Regions from separate parts of the Homo sapiens genome. Here region 2 is linked to region 1. The links are contacts of gene promoters, found by promoter capture Hi-C in blood cells and fetal thymus (Javierre and others, 2016). All regions are on one chromosome and are shown on one strand. The core of a region is centred on a gene start or on the middle of the fragment in contact, and the rest is flanking DNA. Distances in the headings are between cores, read along the strand shown.

What was found. The method cuts DNA at HindIII sites, captures the fragments that hold promoters and counts their contacts. A CHiCAGO score of 5 or more calls a contact.
Region 2: a contact is called between a fragment that was not itself captured here and the fragment with the promoter of HS1BP3 in region 1, in 1 of 17 cell types (naive CD4 T cells). The highest score is 7.8, in naive CD4 T cells.

Annotation. Positions count from the first base shown.
Region 1 is chr2:20,649,179-20,653,706 of GRCh38, forward strand. HS1BP3 (HCLS1 binding protein 3) reads right to left here and starts at 1,920. Exons shown (of 7, transcript NM_022460.4): 1 at 1,854-1,920. The coding sequence starts at 1,885. LOC105373466 (a long non-coding RNA gene) reads left to right here and starts at 2,104. Exons shown (of 2, transcript XR_001739320.2): 1 at 2,104-2,174; 2 at 2,797-3,022. RefSeq lists enhancers at 1,267-1,346, 1,367-1,516, 1,601-2,338 and a silencer at 1,597-2,186. The HindIII fragment of the contact is 7,312 bases long and covers 449-4,528 here.
Region 2 is chr2:18,551,097-18,555,483 of GRCh38, forward strand. It overlaps NT5C1B-RDH14 (NT5C1B-RDH14 readthrough), which reads right to left. Exons shown (of 11, transcript NM_001199104.2): 11 at 3,627-4,387. It overlaps RDH14 (retinol dehydrogenase 14), which reads right to left. Exons shown (of 2, transcript NM_020905.4): 2 at 3,627-4,387. The coding sequence ends at 4,095. Among named protein-coding and RNA genes, the nearest start is that of RDH14, 7.4 kb to the right of the region's middle. The HindIII fragment of the contact is 3,937 bases long and covers 526-4,387 here.

The sequences.
Region 1 (4,528 bases), core at 670-3,169:
CTCGGCCTTTCCTGATCATCCTTCACTCCCAAGCTTGCCTCTTCACCGCATCACCTAACACTCTCCCTGGGCTCACTCCACTCCAGCATACCAGCCTCGGGACCCTGGCTCCTGCTGTCCTGTCCTCCCAGTACACACTTTTCCAAGATTTCTTTTTCATGGCTCTCTCCCTCATGGAGCTTGTCCGGGATCTGTCCAGGCGCCACTCCATCAGAAAGATGCCTCTTTACCACACCATAGAAAACAGCATGCATGCCTCCTACCACTCTGTTGCCCCCACTGTTTTGTTTTCCTTCATAGCATGTATCATCCCTGACATGTCGTAGATTTGCCCACTGGGCCTGTGCCCTCATTAAAGCTCTACGAGAGGGACTTGTTTGTCTCCTAGAACTAGGGCCAGTACCCGGTACAGAGAAGGCTCTCGATAAACACCTTCTGGCTGAATTCAAGCTTGAGTGCATGTGGCAATGACATGTGGGAGGAGATCGGGCTGGAAAGAGGAGCTGGGGTGCGACTGGGAAGGGCCGGCCTTGCTGCTGGGCTAAGGCGTTTGGACTCACCCTGCAGGCAAGATCCTTGGGTGTGCTGGTGCCCTCAGCAAGAAATGAGCCTGACTCATGTGGCCTTACCACCGCCAGCGCCCCCACATCTGTTAACAAGCCACGTCCAGGCTGTGCAGCGGGGCAGGGAGGGAAGCCACCCACCCCATCCCAAGCACCCAGCACCAAAGTCACACCCCATCCATCTGCACATGGCTGAGGGGCATATACTACTGACGTTGCTCATGCCTGCCAATCTGAAACCTCCAATTCACAGAAAAGGAAACTGAGGCTTGGTGAGAGGAGGTGACGTAAGTGGCAGTAGGGAAACCTCTTCTGCCCATGAAGATACAACTGTAACCACACTTGATCATGAAAGACCAAGCAGCCTCCGACATCAGGGTTTACAAAAGGAATCATACCTTTCTAGACCTGAAGTCACGGGGAATTCCTGATTACAACTGGAAGATCAACAGTTGGCTGGGTAACACGTTCATTTATGTCATAAATTGGCATCTTAGCCTAAGACTTTGTGTAGGGAGAGCAAGGGTGAAGTGTATGAAAATATTTGAAGTAAATCACTTTACAGCGTTTTAAAGGCGGAAAGAAGTAAAAGCACGTGCCTCCCAGCCTTGCCAGGATCCACCTTGGGCTGGGTCCTCCAGGTCTCGATCAGGGCCGACCCATTCTGCATCCTCCGCCTGGACCCCTCCAAGGCTTTTGCTGTAACTTGCGCTCTCCTGAGCTGCCTCGCAAGCAGCAACGACCTCTCCCTGGTCTCTCATCAAACTCATCCTCCCAGAAACCGGGTTCCTGCCCTGTACTGTGTTCCCATGGCAACCTGAGCTTACTACCCGCTGCTGGCATCACCCCCTCTCCGCTGCAGCCCCCTGCAGGGCGAGCTTGTCTGATTCGCCTCTGTCCCCAGTGCCCAGCACCGGGCCTGGGACTCAGGGAGCTCTGAAAGGATGGGGAACTAGATTTTCGGGCTCAAAAGAGAAGAACCCAAGGCGGTAGGAAAGGAGAGCAGAGTCCCCACTGCGCCCGCCTGCACTGAACCAGTCAGTCCCAGGGCTCCCGCTGTCCTTGGCTAGTTCTCTACCCTCCAGAGGGCCTCGGTTTCCTCATCTGTAAATCGGGGTCGCCACCTCTCCTGCAGGGCGGTGCAGGGGCCCAGCCCGGATAAGCCACCGAGGGCGCTGGGGAGACCTGCACCAGGTCCCTGGCCTAGGAGGCGGCGGCCTCCCCCCGCCTCTCCGCCCGGGCGCCCCGGACTGCGAGCTGTGCGGTGTGGGGCGCGGGGGTCTGGCTCACCTGGAGGTGACGAGCACCGCCGGGGACTGCATGACGGCGGCGGGGACTCCGGGCGGGGCGCGCAGTCACGGGACCCGGCAGTGCCCGCGTCACCGCGTCCCCGCCCTGCCTCCCGCTGCCCTGGCCTGCCCCCTGGTGGCAGCGGCCGCGCAGTTCGCGCCTGTGGCCAGAGGCGGGGCGGAAGCGCGGCTGGGCGGGTCCCGCACGGTCGCCGTCGGCCTGCGCTGCTCGGAGCTTCCGGAGCACCCAGGCTGAGCCGCGCCCGCCGCAACCACCTAGAAGAAGCCCAGCCTGGCCCTGGCACACGGTGAACCTTAATCGGTGTGTCTGTTTTGCGCTAAAGTTTAGCCGTTAGAGAGACGGGACTCTGCTGTTTCCGCCGCCAGTCCCCATTACAAAACCACTCCCCCTCTGCCCCAAGACCATTTCATTCAACCGATCGGTCAACAAATATTTACCAAGCTGGGGCTCTGTCCAGGCTTCGTGGGGTCTTCTTCAAGCTGCACAGTGAACGCCACGCAGCAGCCCAGTCCCCTTGAGCTTGCTGCCTCCAGCTAGCTCGCCTATCTGGTTCCTACTGCCTGCCCGCTCCATAAATGGCAGGCACTCTCCCGACAGGGGATCTTTAGAGAGGCAGCCTCTGCTGCTTGGCAGAGCCCTGGTGGAGGCCTCCCGGGGCCGGGCCTGCCTGGGATGGCTGCACTTGGGTCCCCAGCTGGAGCAGGGCAACGGGGTCCAGGAGCCAGTTCCCCTCAGAAGGGGAACGTACAGACATGCAGACCCTAACAGACCCACTCATTTTAGATTCACCTCTCCATGGGGTGAGGAACAGAGAGATCGTATCACCTGCCAACGTAGCCCAGGGAAAGAAAAGCTGAGTCTGCAAACAGGGCCAGCAGAAGGTGCAAACTGCTGCCCCTGTTCTGTTACTCCCTCCACCCAGAGCCCCAGTGACAAAAAGAAAGAGAAGCTGGGCTTAACTATACCAGAATTCACGGCAGGGCGATGTCAGCCATGTTTCCTGAGCCTATCAACCACCGCCACCAGCATCACCAACAATATCTACCAGTTTTTACAGATTTTAGTGAAGAAATCCTACAGTAAAAGATTTTGAAAAATGACTTTCCCCAATGTATCTCTTGAATAAATACGGACATTGATATGCCTTATTATTTGTCTCAGATTTGTTTATAGGCAAGATGAGCAATCATGAATGAAGTATGACAATGAATGAAAGTTCTGAGGGAGACCCTTGAAGGCTGCAGTGAAGAGCTGGGATGATGGCGGGAACCCCTGTCTGCTCTGCTGCTCATCGGCCTGTCCGTCTGCAGGGCCGTGTTCATGGCTGCAAATGGTCCTCCGTGTTTTGTTTAAATTGGCATGCCCTACTTTAGAGAAAGGGAGTTCAGGGTCTGGACAGAAAGCAGTATAGGCTTCAGCATTCCAGGAGTCTGAGTGTAGTGCCAGGCAGTCGAGCAGTCACCATTGCACTCACATTTATCCAACAGACAGAAACACAGTGAATAAGACACTTTAGATGCCTTCAGTGGACTTCTTTGCCCTCCTACATGGGGAGTGGGTGGGGGTCTGGAAAGGCTTTCTAAAGGAGCTGAAGTCCAAGGGAAAACCTGAAGAAATATGGATAGAATAGATTAGAAGGAATGTCACGTGCAAAGCCCTAGCGACAGGATAGGAACACCAGGGAACAGGGGGAAGAGGCCAGCAGGAGCCAGGGTGTGGACAGCCTAGTGCACCAAGGCCAGGGCTTTGCCTGATCCTGAGGCCAACACAGCGCCATCAGAGGGTCAGGGACATAGGAGTGGCTGGGCCAGCTAGGGCGTGGGCAGGGTTTTGGAGCATGTTGAAGGTATGAAGATGAGCTGGACTGCAGAACAATCCAGACAAGAGACAATGGTCCCATGAACTAGGGTGATGGCCACCCAGGTGGAGAAGAGGGGACGGGTAAGAGGGCCTTAGGAGAAGGAGTTGGTCAAGACTTGGGAATCCAATGGGTGTGGGCGGGAAGAGATAAGATACCACTATGGTTTGGCTCTTGTGAGTGGCTGGACATTGGTATCATTCTCTGTGGCAGGGCACCTGGAGAAGGAGCATATTTTTGGTAGGATGATGGGTTCTGTTTCAGACAGGCAGTGTTTGAAGGGCTGGACCTATTGATGCGATTGGGTTTATGGCCCTGGGCCTCAGGAAGCCGACCTGGGCTGGAGACTGACATAGGAGTCATGGGTAAAAAGGAGGCTGTTGAGCCTGAGAGTTGGGGTGAGCCCACCAAGGATGGTCTACAATCCAGAGATATGCAGCGGTGTTGGGGGGCTGCAGAGAAGGGGACTCTCCATCATTGTGGGAGCTGGTAGCATGTCTGTCACCAATGCCTTGTAAGCAAATGAGAGGGCCTCACCTGTGCCCCTGGGGTTGTGAAGTGTGCACCTCAGGAAGACTCGGCCCACCTGTCAAGAATGCAACTGGTTTCCCATGAAAGAACGACCCCATTCCCAACAGCAATCCCATTTTCTGCCTCTGTGGGTCCCACGTGCCCCTCTATGGCTCCAGCGCGTAATTGTATACAATGCATGGAATGTGGGATCTAAATCTGATATTTTCTGCTTCCTGTTTAATTCAAGGAGCCCCTTCCATGGCTGAAGCTGCGGTAACACAAA
Region 2 (4,387 bases), core at 1,244-3,743, 2.1 Mb before region 1:
TTTTAGTATTTGATAGTTGCTTTGAAACTTTAGTCAACAGTAAATTTTTAGTGACTTGCTTTCATTTAGTTTTTACAAAACTACTTTTCTACTTTTCATATAAATTCTTTGTACTCACATTTCATTGACTTGCAGTATGATTAATAATTTGTAATGTGATTATTAACCAGCACAGTTGACATATGCATGCACAAATTGGGTTGGGTTTTCTTTGTTGCCTCCTGCATGCCCAGAACTAGAATAATGCCCGGTTACATAATAGGTACTCAATAAATATTTGCTAAGTGAATAACAAATGGTACACAACTCACTCTTAAGTATATAATAGAACAAGAGGAAGCAGAAGGGCTGTTGTGTGCTAGAAGAAAGCCTATCAGCCTAGAGTTTCACATGCTATGTGCATTAGTTTTTTTTTTTTTTTTTAGAAAAAAAGAATGGAGAATCAGTTATTACAGCAAATCTCTTAGATGGTAGTTGCTTAAAAGTGCTTCCACTGCACTTTGATTACACATCTGGCTTAGCAAAAGCTTTTCCTTACTGTCTGCATAAAACTAAGCATTCCGTCTTAGTTTCCTCTAGGAATAAACTACCTTTCTCCATGTTAGCCTGTAACTAATTTAACTCCCCATCGCCCAGAGAAGGCTTGTGGAACATCTGAACCTGTCTGTGGGGGCCAAGCTCCTGAAGGGTGATTAGTAACATGTTCTCTCTTCAGTGTTCCATAGGACATTTGGAATCAATTAAATATTCAAATACAGAGTCCCTCAGATCTCTGGCCAGGCCCAGCAAGTTTGTCAGGGGGAGGGAGTTGAAGGCAGATAACTGCTCTTCCTCACACCAGAATCTATAGCTGGAGACAGACTTTTAAAATATACCCTTTAGGCTTCCTGGTCTGCAAGCAAATAGTTGTCCACAACATTAGAAATAATATGGAAAAACAACAGCAGCCTTATAGAGTAATAGGAGTCACAGCATATACGACAACTACTCTCAAACAAGGTGTCTTAAAGGTAAACAAGTAAGTGAGTACATTGGGCCTGGAAGACTGTACCAGTCATTTAAGTACAATAGTATGGTATGTACTGGCTACAAATGGTCTTTACATTTTTGAAAGATTATAAAAAGAAATCTGGCCTTTTAGATGAAGTTTGCTGCCCCTTGGTTTAGAGTTTTGTTTCCATGATATGTACTTGCCTAACCATTAGCATCGCTAATTACTATTACTGCTAATGGATAGTAATGATTATGTGCATTGTGGAAGGAGAAATGGATGTGTGCCTGTATGTGCCAGACACTTTGCTAAACATTTTACCTAGTCTGTCTCTTTCATTCACTGAGTAATCCTTTAAAGTAGACACTTATATTTCAATATAGAGCCAAAAAAAATAATAGCTCGGAAAGGTTAAGTAACTTGCCAAGGTTACAGGAAGCATTACACAGTAGAGCTGTTAGTCAAACCCAATGTGGTGGTGTGTTTAAGCTGTGAAGCCCCTTGTCCAATTAAATCCTACTTAGAACCCCACTATATAAAATAGTTACTCTGAGCAAAGTTGAAACAGAAGGCCAGCAACCTCAACCCTTCTCAGAATAAGCTGCTTGAAACACGAGTCAATTTTTCAAAAAAAATGAAGCTGAGAACCAGCATGGAAAATGGGCTTTCAACTCATTTCTTCCATGATCTGGCACATTACAGTTTCCCCTCTGATATACTGCTGAGGGTGAGAACAATACCAAAATAACAGGACTGCCTTTTACTTATTTCTTTGCCCAGTAAAATGGATTAAAGTGAGTCAGCAAAAGGGAGAAAGAAGGAGGGGAAGTTAAGGACTTCTTCAAAATCTACCTCATCATTTTGGAGCTCTTAGTCCTCAATTCCATCAAACACAGTGGTGCGAAGGACATCTTCCAAATGGCAGCTCATTTTACCTTAATAGTTGGTGTTTCCAGGTAAGTTTCTAGCTTTCTATCATGATAAGTTAATATATCCTATTTTATTATGGTGCCACAAACAAAAGAACTCTGAAAGGCTCAACTCTTACAAAAGGTCCAAATCCCCTGAAAAGCATCAAGTATCAAAATGCAGCCAGAAAAGATGGTATTAAATGAAAAAAAGGGGCTCCCTTTTAATGAAGTCGAGGTGTAGGACAGATTTATTAGCTTCCATTTTTCCAAGTTGCATTCTGGTGTATTTCCTGCCTATATTTCTAAGTTCAGCAGGTCTCTTTGTAGGATTACTTTTTAAAAATACAATGTTTCAAAGAATATGATGCAGCTATATCCACTACACCTGCAGAGACACACCTGTGATGATACACTGTTTCTCCAATTCACAAGGCAATGCTCTAACAGAAAACAGACCTTCTGCATGATATGCCAAGATCCTGCCATTCTTGAAAATAACCGATACTCATAAGCTGATATTATAAATGGTCTTAAAAATAATAACCAAGAATTATCCCTGGGCTAAATAGTCATTAAATTCAGTGTAACTGTCTATACTTTAGTGTTATAATTCCTTTTTCCGATATGAGATAGTGAAACAAATAATTAAAATTAAGTAGATACTTTTGATGTTGTAACACAGATGCCTGCAATATTCCTATTTGGGCTCAATTATTCTTATGCATACCATTATTTACTGATTTTTTACTGTGTGCTGGGCACTATACTTGATTCTTGATGGAGGAAAGCTAATAATAAAATAAATCTCCTTTCCTTAGAGAATTTCTATTCTGATTATCTGACTGAACCTGTGAATGAATAATTAGTGCACTAAACTCCTAGTAAAAGTACCAAGATCAAGGGGGAAAAAAAAAGTAGGAAGAGAGAATTGTCTCTGCCTACGGGGGCTGGAGAAAGGAACACATTTGAAAGGAACCTGAAGGGTAAGTCGTATTTCCAAGGAAAAAGGAGATGGCATTCCAGACTGAAAGAACAATATAAAGAAAGGCCCAAAGCAAGTGAGTAGGTGACTGTTCTAAAATCAGGACTGGATTATCTGATGGGATGACCAGAGATGTACTGTCCAAGATACCAGTTGCTAGACATGTGCCTATTTAAATTAACATTACATATAATTAGAAATTCAGTTCTCAGTTGAATTTGAAGTACTTAATAATCCCATGTTTCTAGAGTCCATCACATCAGACAACACAGAGTATTCCTTTCCTCACTGCAAAGTTCTACTGAACAGTGCTGAGTATGAGAGTATAGGGTAAGCATGGTGCTGTCTCATGGAGCCTCAACTCTATCTTCAACAGTTTAATCTTTAGTCTAAATAAAAGTGGTTTATAAACCACTATATTCTATGAAATCCCTTTAGGAATTGCCGTGGGGGACTCCACCTTGGCAGCATTGCGATAACCTGCTTTACCCCCTCCAGCTTCTACGTTTCAGTGAAACACCGCTTTTGAAGAAAGAATTCTGCCAAATTTTTTTTTTTTTAAGGCTCAAAACCCACTGTTTTTTAAGCAGGAATGTGATAGATTTGGGTTTTAGGAATATTATCTCTCAGAGCAGTGTACAAGATACGTGGCAAGAAGAGACTGGGCAGACCAAGATCAGCATAGGCTAATGGTGACATGATAAAGGACTGTATTCAGTGAAGCCTCCAAAGAAATGCACAGTTAAGAATTTGTACCAGTAAATTTATTCCAAGTAAGACTTGTGTGCACACACCAGGCAGATAATTTCCACACAAACACCAAACATTGTAGTAAAACTAGTTAACACTTTGGCCATGAAACTCAAAGATACTTGAAAAACCTCTCGATAGCACTTTGAGTCACTTAATTCTGACAAATATTAATATGTCATCCATGCTTGCCCAGTTATAATTTTACAATATAATTGTATTTTTCATTGTACTTATTATTCATTATACTTACTATATATATTTAAAACATCTTTGCTGAAATTCTCTTATCCCAAAAATAATTTTTCAGTAACTCCAAAATACCCACATGTACCTCTTAGCAGGCTATTCCAATATCAAAATTCTTTTTCTTCAAGTAACAAGTTCTCAATCCACACCATTCCTGATCACAGATATAACTGATATGCAGTTTTATAAACAGCTCTTTTACTCCTTGTTCCTATTTTAGCAGGCCAACCATCACTTCACTGATATCCCAGAGTTTTCTTGCAACAGATTCATCCATAGCTTTGGGCAACAGTTCTTCCTCTTTACAATCCCCAAAGTATCTTCCTGACACTCCTTCTACCTCAGGTGAAGAGGCCAAATAAATGGAAGTCTGGGCACCTTCTACTGGAGTTTTGAAAAAAGCCCATGACACCAAATTGAAGAGTGGTTTGACCAACAGTGGAATGTGTATGTGCCTCCCCAGATTTGTCCGTACAATACCAGGATGCAACACATTGACGGTGA